Regions from separate parts of the Homo sapiens genome. Here region 1 is linked to region 2. The links are contacts of gene promoters, found by promoter capture Hi-C in blood cells and fetal thymus (Javierre and others, 2016). All regions are on one chromosome and are shown on one strand. Each heading gives the region's core, a stretch centred on a gene start or on the middle of the fragment in contact. The rest is flanking DNA. Distances are from core to core; before and after follow the strand shown. Region 1 overlaps TNIP2 (TNFAIP3 interacting protein 2). Region 2 holds the start of NOP14 (NOP14 nucleolar protein).

Region 1 (6,807 bases), core at 4,192-6,691, 210 kb before region 2:
CTACTGTTGAAAGGGAACCAGAGGCCACTTAGTACAAGGTCTGCAGGCCCCACCAGGAACTTTACCCCCGGGGGTAAGAATCTGGGCCTGCAAGTCTGGAACCAGTTCATCTGGTCCAAAATCTTCAAGAGGCGGCCTGAGACCATCCTCACGATTGTACCAATAGTGCTCCTTCAATCCAAATCACATGCTTCCTTGAATTCATGAAGGCCAGAAAAACCTGTCCAGCCCTCTGCTGCAGACTTAGTCCCAGGGTTAGTCCCATAGTCCACCATGACTCTCCCGTGCCCTTCATGCGGAGGAGAAGCAGAAACCACTGAGGCCCAGTGGCTGCTCGGAACAGGGCAGTGGGGGGTGGCCTCACAGCCCCAGGGTCCCTGTTCACACCCTGAAACACGGCTGACGTCCTAGCTCCAGCCCGGGACGCATCGATTCTCAAGAGGCATCACTACTGTTCAGTCTGTGCCAGGAGAGGAAGCTCTTTGAGTGGGGCCCAGGCTATTCCCAGGGCCAAAAGTGTGTTAGGTACTTGATGAGGAGCTACATAAACTTCTCCTGGATTTTTGCAGAGCACAAGTCAGTGAGGAGAAGGAAGAGGCCATGGGTCACACACTGAGGAACTTCATCGGTTCCCATTCATGCCAGGCCTCCCTCAAGGCACCCCATGGTAGGAAAAGCACTGAGCCCAGGGGTGGGGTGAGGGGCCCCTGCCCTGCAAGGCCCAGCTCCACGTGCCAGGCTGAGCTGGGGATGTTACTGGACACCCAGGGCCATCACATCTACATGACAAGGTAAGCGGGGTTCCCGTCTCACAGACAGGTCAGGACACGTAGGGAGCTCACACTTTGAGGCCCGAGATATGCTCTCTGACTGCATGACAGTGACGGACGGGCCCTGAGGACAGCCACCTCTGCTAAGACAGGCCGCCATGCCAGCCTCCTCCATAACTAAACAGTATAACAGGGAGGCTTTCCATGACCACGCCCAGGTACCAGGCCAGGTGGCTCTCCCCACAGCAGGGAGGGGCTCGCCACAACCCTCATCACCAGCAAATCAGGGCCTTGGCAGACACAGAAAGGCTCTAATCTCATGAGAAGAGAAACAAAAACACTAAACCTAAGCAGGAAGAAAAACGCCCTCATACTCTACCTGTCTCCAGGACACCTGGTGCAGCAAAGAGGCGACCTTTTCCTCCAGTTCTTGAATCCTACTTTGAGCCCGTTCCCGATCGGCCCTTTCTGACATGAAGTCATCCTTGTAAGCGAGAATCTGAAGAGAGGCGAGACACACATTTCTGCTCAAGGAAGGAGGAAGCGCCCCACCAGGCTTCTCCCACCCCCACAGTGACCACTGCCCACTCAGTGCCACCAAGCCTTCAGCCCAGCCTGTCCCATGATTTCGGCCACCACCGGCCAGCAGACATCTGGTCAGTGCCGTCCGGAGCCCGAGGGACAGACACCTGCTGTTCCAGCATCTGCACCCGCTCCAACGCAGCATCCCGGGCCGTCCTGGAGGCCGCCAGCTCCTGCTTCACTTCGGCACAGTCATTTATTTTCTCTTCCAACTGTCTGTTGAGCCGGGAGATCTCCTTCCTCATCAGCTCGGGCTCGTGGGGGATCTGCAGCCCCCTGAGCTGCGCATGGAGCCCCCTCACGTATTCGTCCCTGCTGGCGTTGTAGCGCTGCCACTTGGCATTGAGGTCTTCAACCTGAAGAGGTGGAGCCGGAAAGCTCACGGTGAAGGCAGCTGACAAAGCTGCTCAAGCCAGCACCCAGTGTGAATTATGTATTAGCAGTGATTCGCTGAGTGAGAGTTTCCTCTTAAATGGAAGCTGCCCCTCCCTGTTCTGTAGAGAGCAGACACTAGGCCCGCTAGAGAATCCTGAGGCAGCACGATGACACCCGTACGCAAGCAGCATGAACGGAGGTGGACTCGGTGCAGCTTTGCTGTCTTAGAAAATGGACCTCCTGCTGCTAACTCTTGCATCTCCTTTACTGACTTGTGGATTAATTTTAGGGGGATGGAGATGGACAGGACATGTCCCGTACGTCGTTTTAAGCAAAAAAGTCCAGTCTCTAGGGACTGTGTGTATCAAGTCCTAGTGGCCAGAGGGCGGGGGGCGACTCTGGGCATCAGCCAAGGAAAGAACCCTCACTTACAGTTTGTAAGCCATGTGTTCTTCTCAAACGAAATGTGAAAGACACTCACGTGAGTCACCTTCTGTTTTAACAGTCGATTTTCTTCCTGCAACTTCTCAATAACACTCTGGACAGAGGTGTGCCCATCTGTGTGTTCCGACTGCATGAGGAAGGGACAGAGAGAAGACACTCTGTCACATACAGCAAGAGGGGAGAAAGCTAGACCCAGAGGCTGAGGCCACAGATTATCACTGCGTCCCCCAGTGCAGCGGGTAGTGATCATTCATTTGGTAGAGAAGCAAAGCAGGGACAAGGGACCACCTTCTCCCTGCCCAGGCCCACCCCACCTGGCCCAGGCCAGAGCCCGGATGGGAGGTCTTCAGGCCACACCACCTTTCACACTGTCCTTATCCCGTCCCACCTACCAGTTTGAGCTGTTTGTCTTTTAAATATTTGGAATGTAAATATTCTAAAGCCATAATGTCTGCAGGGATTGGCACACCAGACATGATAAAGTCTTCTCATTGCCAGAGATTTGCCATTATCACAGACAGCAGGGAAGGCAGGAAGCTGAATCCCATTGTAAACCAGAGGATCTCCAGTGAGGGGGCCCCCAGCTGCCCAGGGTGGGCCTGGCCATGCACCCTGCTTACCTCCTTTGGAGCCCATGACACTGTCCTGTCTGCAGACAATCGGGTTCAACCAGGTGATTCTGGACACAGGAATCTAACCTCTGCCCCACGCAGGGTCAGGAGTCACCGAAGCCACAACCCAAACCAACCCCCACTAACAACTACAGAGCTGAATGAAAAGTCTCCTGAAACTCGTGTGTACCCTACAATTCTGACTGTATCTCAGTGACATAATTTTTGAGAATTCCCCTCAAATGACAAAGGAAGTGCACGTCCTAACACAGCCTACACCGGGAAGCCCCGGGTGACTCAGCTGAGTTCAGGGCTGAGAAGTGACACTTATTTAGAGACTGTGATGAGGGCCTACCCTGCCACTGGCCCCACCCCCGCCTCAGGCTCAACACTGTGTGTGGCTCCTTTCAAATCCCCAGAGGGAAATGACACAGTGACTCAAAATCAGACCAGAACACCCTGCCTCCGCCCAGACGGCACTTTTCCTCTGGTTTCTGAATGCAGCTGTGTCCTCTCTGAGGTTCCCCGCCTGGAATCCACCCAGCTGAGGTGGGCAGTTCTCAGACCAACCTTCTCCCCAGTGGGCGCCTCGGTGAAGCTGCTGATGGGTGCGGGATGTACTGTCTGCCACAGAACATCCCAGCGCGTGTGTTTCTGCATGAACCTTGGTGCTGCCTCAGAGAACTGCCTAGAAAGGACCCGAGCGAGAGGCCCTGTGCCCGGCAGTGCGAGTGAGATGGGGTCTCAGCCTAGGTGAGATGTGCACGGAGTGCCTCCATTCCCCTGCCTGCCACACACAGACCACCACAAGCACCAGCAAGATGGAAGGTGCCTGGCACACAGATGCCTTGGGCCACTGCTCCCCTACTTTTCTGCCTAGGAGCCCCCTGGTTTCTCCTGATGCTGAAACTCCCACGGTCCTTCTCTCTCCCACTAGACCCCACAGAGAGCTACAGCCCAGATCCAGCCTATCCTGGAGGTCCAGCGAACCCTTCTTTGGCCCTCACTGTCACTTGGTGCCGCTGCCCCCGGCCCTTGCTTTGATGATGAGGAGGCTGTGGCCCTGAGCCAGGTCTCCAAGCTTGCGGGAGGCCGTGCTGCTGGCAAGGACATGCCTAAAGCCAGCTTTGGAGATGGCGGTTCCAGCTGTGCCTGCATGCACTCAGACACACTGAGCCTGAAGAAGGCGGGCACTCACGGTCCTTCCAGGAGTTTGGGGTGTGGAACTGGAGGCACTCCCCATCCCCAGCAGTACCACCTGGCTCTGCTTCAGTTTCCTCGGATGGAGGATGTGACTACACTTCCTCCAGGCAGCTCTGCCAGGCTCAGCTCCTCCTCCTCATCCTCAGCTGAGGCAGATGAAAGCCAAGTGCCATCTCCCACCTGGGAGCGGGGTCGGCCACAGGCCTGGTGCTGGGCAGTGAGGTGGCTGCCTGCTTTCCTATTACATTTTGCATGTTCCATCATTTTAAAAGAAACCCTTGGATGAGTGAGCTTTGCCCCGTCAGCTGACTCTCGTTACTGAGAACAGAAGTGGGTTCTGGGGCGCCCCCCCACCTCTGTGATCAGGGGCCTGTAGGCGATGCTCCCAGCACACAGAGGTCTTCCCCACACTCTGCTTACACTGTGGCCTACCTGGTCAGGACTTCTCTCCCCCACATTCCTTTGTGCATGCTGTCGTTCATCCAGACACTTGGCCAGATGCTGACACATGTGGGCGGTGGCGGTCAGCGTCCTCCGCAGCTGATGGGTCTCGTTGGCCAAGGAGCGGCACAGGACGTCACTGGCGGCCCGGGCGCGCTCCCCTTCTGCCATGCTCCTCCGTAGCAGGACGACTTCCTTCTCTCGCTCGTGTTGGGGCTGGCTCAGCAGCTGCTGCATCTCCCTCTCTTTTTCTTCTAGTCGCTCAGTCAGCCTCTCAATTTCCTAAGTGGAAGATTTAAAAGCACAGTTTACTGAATTAAAAGAAGCAGTGTCAAGAGCAAATGTTCAGAAAGCAAAAGAAGACCTGGCGTGGATGCCCCATCACCAGACACAAACATACTCACTCAGAAGTTGGGCGTTTGAACTAACAATTACTCACTCAGAAGTTGGGCATTTGAACTATTAACTCTGGAGTTTTTCAGCCTACAATGTTCTGTTCTGAAACTTCATCTCAAATTTTTTTTTTTTTTGAGACAGAGTTTCACTCTGTTGCCCAGGCTGGAGTGCAATGGCACAATCTTGGCTCGCTGCAACCTCCACCTCCCAGGTTCAAGCGATTCTCCCACCTCAGCCTCCTCAGTAGCTGGGATTATAGAGCCCACCACCAAGCCCAGCTAAAAGAATTTTTTTTTTTTTTGAGACGGAGTCTCGCTCTGTCGCTCAGGCTCGAGTGCAGTGGAGCGATCTCAGCTCACTGCAAGCTCCGCCTCAGAGGTTCACACCATTCTCCTGCCTCAGCCTTCCGAGTAGCTGGGACTACAGGCACACGCCACCACGCCCAGCTAATTTTTTGTATTTTTAGTAGAGATGGGGTTTCACCATGTTAGCCAGGATGGTCTCGATCTCCTGACCTCATGATCCGCCTACCTCGGCATCCGCCCACCTCAGCCTCCCAAAGTGCTGGGATTACAGGCGTGAGCCACCACGCCTGGCCCAATTTTTATATTTTTAGTAGAGACGGGGTTTCACCATGTTGGCCAGGCTAATCTCGAATTCCTGACCTTAGATGATCCGCCAGCCTTGGCCTCCCAAAGTACTGGGATTATAGGCGTGAGCCACTGCGCCCAGCAATTTTTTTTTTTTTTTTTTTGAGGCAGGGTCTCACTGTCACCCAGGCTAGAGTGCAGTGGCACAATCATGGCTCACTGCAGCCTCGACCTCCCCAGGCCCAAGCGATTCTCCATCCTAACCTGAGTAGCTGGGACTACAGGCACGTGCCACCGTGCCTGGTTAACTTTTTTGTATTTTGTAGAGACAGGGTTTTGCTGTGATGCTCAGGCTGGTCTTGAACTCCTGGGCTCAAGAGATCCACCCGCCTTGGCTTCCCAAAGTGCTGGGATGACAGGTGTGAGCCACCACGCCCTGCCAAATTCTATTTTCACAAGCAAGTTCATAATTTTAGATTTCATATCATCAAAATGTTTTTTTGAGATGAGGGTTTCGCTATATATAGCCCAAGCTGGTCTTAAACTCCTAGGCTCAAGCAAATCCTCCCACCTCAGCCTCCTGAATAGCTGGGACTACAGGCTCAAGCCACCACACCCAGTTATCATCAAATTATCAAAGTGGCAATTCCAAGCACTTTTTTGATGGGATAGGTAGAAACTCCACTGTGGTGGGTAACCCCAAAAAGATGTCCACAACCAAACCTCCCATTCCCCGGTATCTGGGAATGAAACCTTACTTAGAGATAGGGTCTTTGCAGATGTAATTAGTTAAGGTGGGGACAAAATGGATTAGGACGGGACTGGTGTCCTTGTAAGCAGACAGAAGTCTGGACAGACACACAGAGAGAAGACGACCACGTGACAACAAAGATAGGAGTGACGTCTTGTCTTGTGGATAAAGGCCAAGGAACACCAAGGATTGGTGGCCCCCACAGGAAGCTGAAGAGGCGAGGAAGGGTCCTTCCCTAGAACCTTGAGAGAGAGCCGATGCCTTGGTTTCTGGCTTCTGGCCTCTAGAACTGTGAAAGATTAAATTTCTGTTGCTTGAAGCCCCCCAGTTTGTGTTACTTTGTTACAGCAGCTCTAGGAAATTAACACACCCAACCCCAATTACTTCTTAAAGAATTTAAAAAGGTTCTTAAAATGACAATTTTATTTTGAGATAGGGTCTCGCCCTGTCACCCAGGCTGGAGTACAGTGGTGCCACCATGGTTCACTGTAGCCTCCACCTCCCAGACTCAAGTGATCCTCTTGCCTCAGCACCCTAAGTAGTTGGATTACAAGTGCATGCCACCGTACCTGGCTAATTTCTGTATTTTTTGCAGAGACAAGGTTTCACCACTTTGCCCAGTCTGGTCCTGGACTTGAGTGATC
Region 2 (6,293 bases), core at 644-3,143:
TGAAAAGACCCAGGCCTCCTGCGCCGGCCTCACGGCCCCTACACGCGTTATCAAGCTTGGAGTCAACTGGACGACCTGCTGTCCCTCAGACAGCTGTGAGTGCCACACTTCACCATACCGGGACAATGTGCCTTTGCATGTGTGTCCTCTGCCCACCCTGGGCCCATGAACAGCTCACTCCCCTTGCAAAACTTGACTGTAACTCCCTCTAGAAGAATTTTTGGACTTTCCTAACTATTACACTTTTTCCTGACCGGGATCTCCTAAGGCACTCAGGTTCCATCTTTGATTTCTTCAAATATTTGTGTTTCTTCCAAGGGCCAAGCATTGGAGATCCAAAAAGGAGCAGCAATTCCCGTCCCCGTCCCAGGCCTTCAGCACAGGGCAGGGAGGTGGATCTGCTCAATACCAGAAGTTTGAGCAACCTGTCCTATTTGGGTTACATAGCTTGGGTGGTGAACCTGAGCTGGCCCTTTAGAGACTTTCGGAGGTAAGGCAGACCTTTTGGACAAACTGAGTTGCAAGAGGCGAAGCAAGGACAACAGCCAGACTGTGCGGGACTCGAACGACAAGCCAAGAAGGTTAAGAATAACAGTATTTAGAGAACACTTGCTGTGTGCTCTATGTGCTATCTTACTTAATTCTCACAAACCACCACGAGGGGTAGGATGTATACTATCATCTCTACTTTTGAAATGAGAAAACTGAGGCTTCAGTGGTGAAGACAAATGTGTCTCTTCTAGGGAACCACACTACCTTATTCTCCCACCCCGGCCCGGGGGTGTGTAATGAGGGACTCCTATCGAAGTCAGCTGTAAGTCTATCTTGCCTATTCATTATACAGGCTGTCGTCTTCGCGCAGTAAGGATAATATGTGTTTTGATTCAAAGACCATCCAGCTTGCACACTGTGATGAACAGAGATCAGGAGCTCATGAAGGCAAGGGCAAGTCTTATTTACCTTTATCTCCCCGAACCTAGAAGCGAGGTCAAACAGAAGCGCTCGGGGTAGCAAGAAGGCTTTGTAGATATTGAAATGTGAATGCATGCCCAGCCCTTACCAGGTGCGTGACCTTAGGAAATGCACTTGTCCTTTCTGTGCCTTAATTTTTTCACCAACCTGCTAATGTATGTTCCTCAGTGAAAATTTAAAAAAAAAAAAGTTAAAAAAACTAGGAAGCAATGAGTTTCCATAGAGTTACTTCCCAAGGAACAAGGTTACGCGCTTCGGGAGAGAGCCGATGAAACATCAAACGCAGCATCCTACACAGCCCCTATCCACCGTCCCCAAACCTGCAGAGCTCAAAGTAAACGCGGAAGGGTTAACAAGCAGCTTGGTCCAGGGCGCCGCCCGAAGTGACTGACTCGGCCTGACCCGGTTGGAGGAGTCGCCGAAATAACACGAGTGCAGGGTCTCCAAGACGGCGAGAGTTTCCAGGTCACTCCAGCTCAGAGAACAGCAGAGGCTTTCGGACTATCAAGTCAGTGCCGTGTGCCTGTCACGGCCTGTGCCGCTCAACGAGGAAACCGACGCACCGAGAAGGACGCAGCCGGCCGAGAGCAGCGTGGGGTCCAGATCCTGCCTTCCGGCTCCCCGTGCGCCCCCCGCTTACCTTCCTGAGGGCCCGTGCGCGAGACACCCCGGGCAGTCCCACGTCGTGGCGCGTCTTCCGGCCCAGGATCTGGAACTTCTGCCTGTTAACTTTCACCTCGAACGGATTGGAGTTGGCCTTCGCCGGGCCCCCTCGCGCTCCCGCCGGCGCCCCGGAGGCCTTCCTTCGCGCCCCGACCTTCTTCGCCTTCGCCATGGCGCGCGCCCCGCTGCGCCCAAGGGCCCGAGACCCGAAGAGAGACAGGCGCGCGCTACCCTAAGACACGTGCCGGGCCGCGGAACCGCTTCCTCGTCTCGCGAGAACAGCGCAGCACCTCCGACTCGCGAGAAGTAAACACCGCGCCCGCAGGCTCGGCTTACTCGCCGATAGGCTCAGCGACTACAACTCCCAGCAGGCCACGCGCCGCGGCCCGCCGTGTACTCTTGGCGCAGGGCCTTCTGGGAGCTGTAGTGCCCCGGCCGCGGCGGCGAGGGGCGCTCCCTCTTCAGCTAAGCCGTTAGCGCCGAGCCCGCCCGGGAGCGGGTCGCCGGCCGCGGCGGGCGCCCCTGCCAGTGAGCCCCTGTCCGAAGTGAGCCACGGCATTGACTCGGGGCTGCCCGGGGGCAGGGCACTGAGGAGGGAGTTGCGCGCGCGAGGCGAGGGCGATGGGGCCAAGAAGAACCGGGGCGATAGCGCGGCAGCGGTGACAGCTGGGACCCGCCGCGGTCGGGCTGCCCCCTCCCCTCGCCCCGACCGCTCCCCTGCTGGTGAGGGCCTGCGGAGGCGGCGGCGGCGGCGCCCTTGGTGGCAGTGGTGGCGGCGGAGCAGCCTCCCGGGATCGTGTCCGGAGCTCGAGGAGAGGGTGGTGCCCGGCGAGCTATGCACGGGGGCGGCGGCGTCTCCTCCTGTTCCGCCTCCTCAGTCTCCTCGGTCTCGCAGAATCCGCCGGCGGCGGCGGCGCCAGGACATGGAGCTCGAGAACATCGTGGCCAACTCGCTGCTGCTGAAAGCGCGTCAAGGTGGGTGCGCGGCAGGCGCCCCCGACCCCCCCCCCAGAGAACCCCGAATCCCGGGGAACCCTGGCCCCCCTGAAGGAACCCGACATCCCCGGAGAACCCCGATTTCCCTGGAGAGCCCCGACACCTCCCACTGGGGGAACCCAGATCTGCACGGAGCCGGAGCCGGGGTCTGTGCAGTGTGGTCAGGCTGCCCGGGCCAGGTCCCAGTCCCCATCTCCTGGCCCAGATGAGAGAAGTCTGCGCTTTGCTCTTCTTAGTCTTGCCCTGTGTCCTTGTCCTGTCCTCTCGGTGTGACCTCGGTGACAGTGTTGCTTCAGGATGCGGCAGGCAGTGTCCTGCTTGTGTTGGACAACCTGTCCCACCAAAAAAGAACGGCGTCTTTATGGTCTTAAGGGGGACAAAGAATAGCAGCCTGGGAACTACTCTGGGCGAGAACCTTCCGATAATGATTGTAGGGCAATGTTATTTTTAACATAGCTGCTTGGTTTTGAGGTTTGATCTGAGGCTCTATGGTGTGTCAAGTGTGCTTTAGCACGACGTGGTCACAGATGGACAAGTTGGCAAAAATTCAGCCTTTTATCATTATTAAAGTGAGGCAGAAATTTAAAAATAGTAATAAGTACTGCATTCATTCACTCCAAGAAAAGAAAAAGCCAAGGCCCAGAATGTGGCAAGGCAAGGGTTAAAAAGAAAAGAAGAACAAGTTTTCTTTTGCTTAGCAAGCTCACTTTAAGGACAGTTATAAGATAACGCTGTTCTGTTTGAGAAGTCGAATCCAAAGGAATAGGCTCCAGACACCCCCCTTCCAGAGCAGGGGTGAAGAAAAAAAAAAAAGAGGACAAATATCTGTGTTTAGCCAGTTCTTGGTTTTTTCTTTCAACGCAGCTACAAGGCCACCAGCTATGCAAGGCCACAAGTTATGCCAAGTCATCAGTTATGCTATAGATTATGTGACCTGTCATTATATGATTAACTGCCTTTGTTTTGCTTCTGTAAGTTTGCTTATAAAAATCCTGCTTAGTCTTTGTTCAAGGCTCAGCTTTTTGGATGTGAATCCACTGAGCTGGTGCGTACCTTAACATAAATATCCTCCTGTTTTCACCCATGCTGGTCTCTCTAGTCCTCTGCATCCCGCCACAAAAGCATCAGTTGGTCCAGCCCTTCAGCGGGAGACCCCCACAATCCTCTGTGCAATCCTCTGTCTCGGACCTCATGTCTCCCTTGCCTGCGTCTCAAGAGAGCTGGCGACAGAGCCTCGGACCTCAAGTCCCTGTGCTAGCCACGGTAGTTCTTCACACCCCGTCACTCTTACGGAATTGCTGATTTCCTCTATTTCCTTGCGTGATGGAGCAGCTCTGCTCGGACTGTGCTCCAGGACAGTGTAAATGCCGACTGAAGATGCCACAGCAGCCGGCGATGCATATTTAAAGGACAGTCTGGAGCCGAAGGTGGCGGCCACGCTTGTAGTCCCAGCTACTCTGGAAGCTGAGGTGGAAGGCTCACTTGGGCCCAGGAGAGTCCAGCCTGGGCAAAACACAGCAAGACCATCTCTTTAAAAAAGTCTAAAACAAAGACTTCATCTTCTCAGTATTTTTGTGCACCAACTCACACTATTTTGAATAGAAGAACTGAGAATGGGTGGGAAGAGAATGGGATCTTTTTCCCTTAAGATAATCAGGGAGTCCCAGAGCAGTATGCGTTCTCAGCAGCCATTTTCAGTGGAGCATTTGACTGTGCCTCTTATCCCTGACTGTGAACTCCAAATAGGTCATGGAAAATAATCATCCTTAGTGGAAGTCAGATTGAAGCTAAGCCAGTTTTCTTTTTACACTACCTTCCTATCTGCATGTAATTTACAAAAAGGAACTATACCAAGCCGCCTTCCTTATAATGCTGCAGAGATTAGATAATGAGATAAATACAAGTGCTCTATAAATGCTAAATAACATAAAACCAGATTCTGTCACAAAACCTAAGACCACAGTGATAGTTTGAAAAATGAAAGTTTTGGCCGGGCACGGTGGCTCACAGCTGTAATCCCAGCACTTTTGGAGGCCGAGGCGGGCGGATCACAAGGTCAGGAGATTGAGACCATCCTGGCTAACATGGTGAAACCCCGTCTCTACTAAAAATACAAAAATTAGCCGGGCGTGGTGGCGGGCGCCTGTAGTCCCAGCTACATGGGAGGCTGAGGCAGGAGAATGGCGTGAACCCTGGAGGCAGAGCTTGCAGTGAGCCGAGATCGCGCCACGGCACTCCAGCCTGGGTGACAGAGCGAGACTCCGTCTCGAAAAAAAAAAAAAAGAAAGTTTTAATTTTTTCCCTGAAATATCTCATATTAACTCCACAGTAGTGTGATTATGAGGCCTGTCCCCATTGAGTGAGAGTATTTGCTCCTGTGGTCAGAAAGCATCATTATGTATAGCTTGATTAATGGTTAGAGAAGTTGAATATATAATATTAGATATACATGGATACATGCTGAGTATTGGTTATAATTTAGGGCTTTTTCCCAAGTTGATGACTGTGTTTGTTACTTTAAAGTATCTCCCAGGAAGTACCAGGAGGTGTCTTCTTGGACACATAACTTCATGGACAGCTCCTTGTTTAGCTTCACTGGCTCATATACTAGAAAATTAACCTTTGAAATGAATGAACGTAGCACAAGAGTTATATTCTGGTCCTGAGAAGCGCAATGTTGATTTAATATTATTAGTGAGTCCGGTCATTTCCTGGATTTATTTCAAATAGAATCAGTCAGTCTCAATCCCCCCTCCCTCTCTGGTCCCTGCTATGGTCTGAATATTTGTGTTCCCCCAAAATTCTTATGTTGAAATCTTCACTACGAAGGGGATGGAATTAGGAGGTGGGGCATTTGGGAGGTGATTGGGTCATGAGAGTGGAACCCTCGTGAATGGTATTAGTGCCTTTATAAAAGAAACTAGAGAGACACCCCTCACTCCTTCTACCATGGACACAGAAAGAAGATGCCAGCTATGAATCAGAAAGTGGGCCCTCACCAGACACCAAATCTGTCTTGATCTTGGACTTTTTAGCTTCCAGAACTGTGAGAAATACATTTCTGCAATTTATAAGCTACTCAGTTTATAGTATTTTGTTAGAGCAGCTTGAACAGACTAAGATGGTCTAAACAGAAGATTGTTAGAGCCTTTTCCTTTCAGGAATGTTGGCAGATGATGCTGCACTGAAAGTGTTTGTGTGTCACTCTGCCAGGGACATGAAGGAAGCGTGAAATGATCATATTGGTTTGGTCTTATTTTGTTTCGTTTTGTTTTGAGACAGAGTCTCACTCTGTCACCCAGGCTGGAGTGCAGTGGTATGATCTCAGCACACTGCAACCTCTGCCGCCTGGGTTCAAGTGATTCTCCTGCCTCAGCCTCCCAAGTAGCTGGGACTACAGGCACCCACCATTCCCGGCTAATTTTTTGTATTTTTAGTAGAGACAAGGTTTTGCCATGTTGGCCAGGCTAGTCTTGAACTCCTGACCTCAAGTGATTCGCCCACCTCAGCCTCCCAAAGTGCTGGGATTACAGGCGTGAGCCACTGCACCCGGCCCGTATTGGGTTTTTGTTGGTGTTTTGTTTTATTTTTTTTTCCTTGATATAATTCATAGGTTCATAGATCATATTGTTAATAAATATAAAAACAATTTTTTTTTGAGG

The links. The method cuts DNA at HindIII sites, captures the fragments that hold promoters and counts their contacts. A CHiCAGO score of 5 or more calls a contact.
Region 1: a contact is called between a fragment that was not itself captured here and the fragment with the promoter of NOP14 in region 2, in 2 of 17 cell types (naive B cells and non-activated CD4 T cells). The highest score is 5.3, in naive B cells.

The regions. Positions count from the first base shown.
Region 1 is chr4:2,743,238-2,750,044 of GRCh38, forward strand. It overlaps TNIP2 (TNFAIP3 interacting protein 2), which reads right to left. Exons shown (of 6, transcript NM_024309.4): 2 at 4,418-4,708; 3 at 2,209-2,298; 4 at 1,460-1,708; 5 at 1,150-1,269. Among named protein-coding and RNA genes, the nearest start is that of TNIP2, 9.7 kb to the right of the region's middle. RefSeq lists enhancers at 1,605-2,105, 2,701-3,140, 4,551-4,600. The HindIII fragment of the contact is 3,160 bases long and covers 3,862-6,807 here.
Region 2 is chr4:2,961,513-2,967,805 of GRCh38, forward strand. NOP14 (NOP14 nucleolar protein) reads right to left here and starts at 1,894. Exons shown (of 18, transcript NM_001291978.2): 1 at 1,613-1,894. The coding sequence starts at 1,807. GRK4 (G protein-coupled receptor kinase 4) reads left to right here and starts at 2,059. Exons shown (of 16, transcript NM_182982.3): 1 at 2,059-2,610. The coding sequence starts at 2,559. RefSeq lists enhancers at 452-521, 1,552-2,085, 2,086-2,619 and silencers at 2,082-2,511, 2,682-2,731. The HindIII fragment of the contact is 6,609 bases long and covers 54-6,293 here.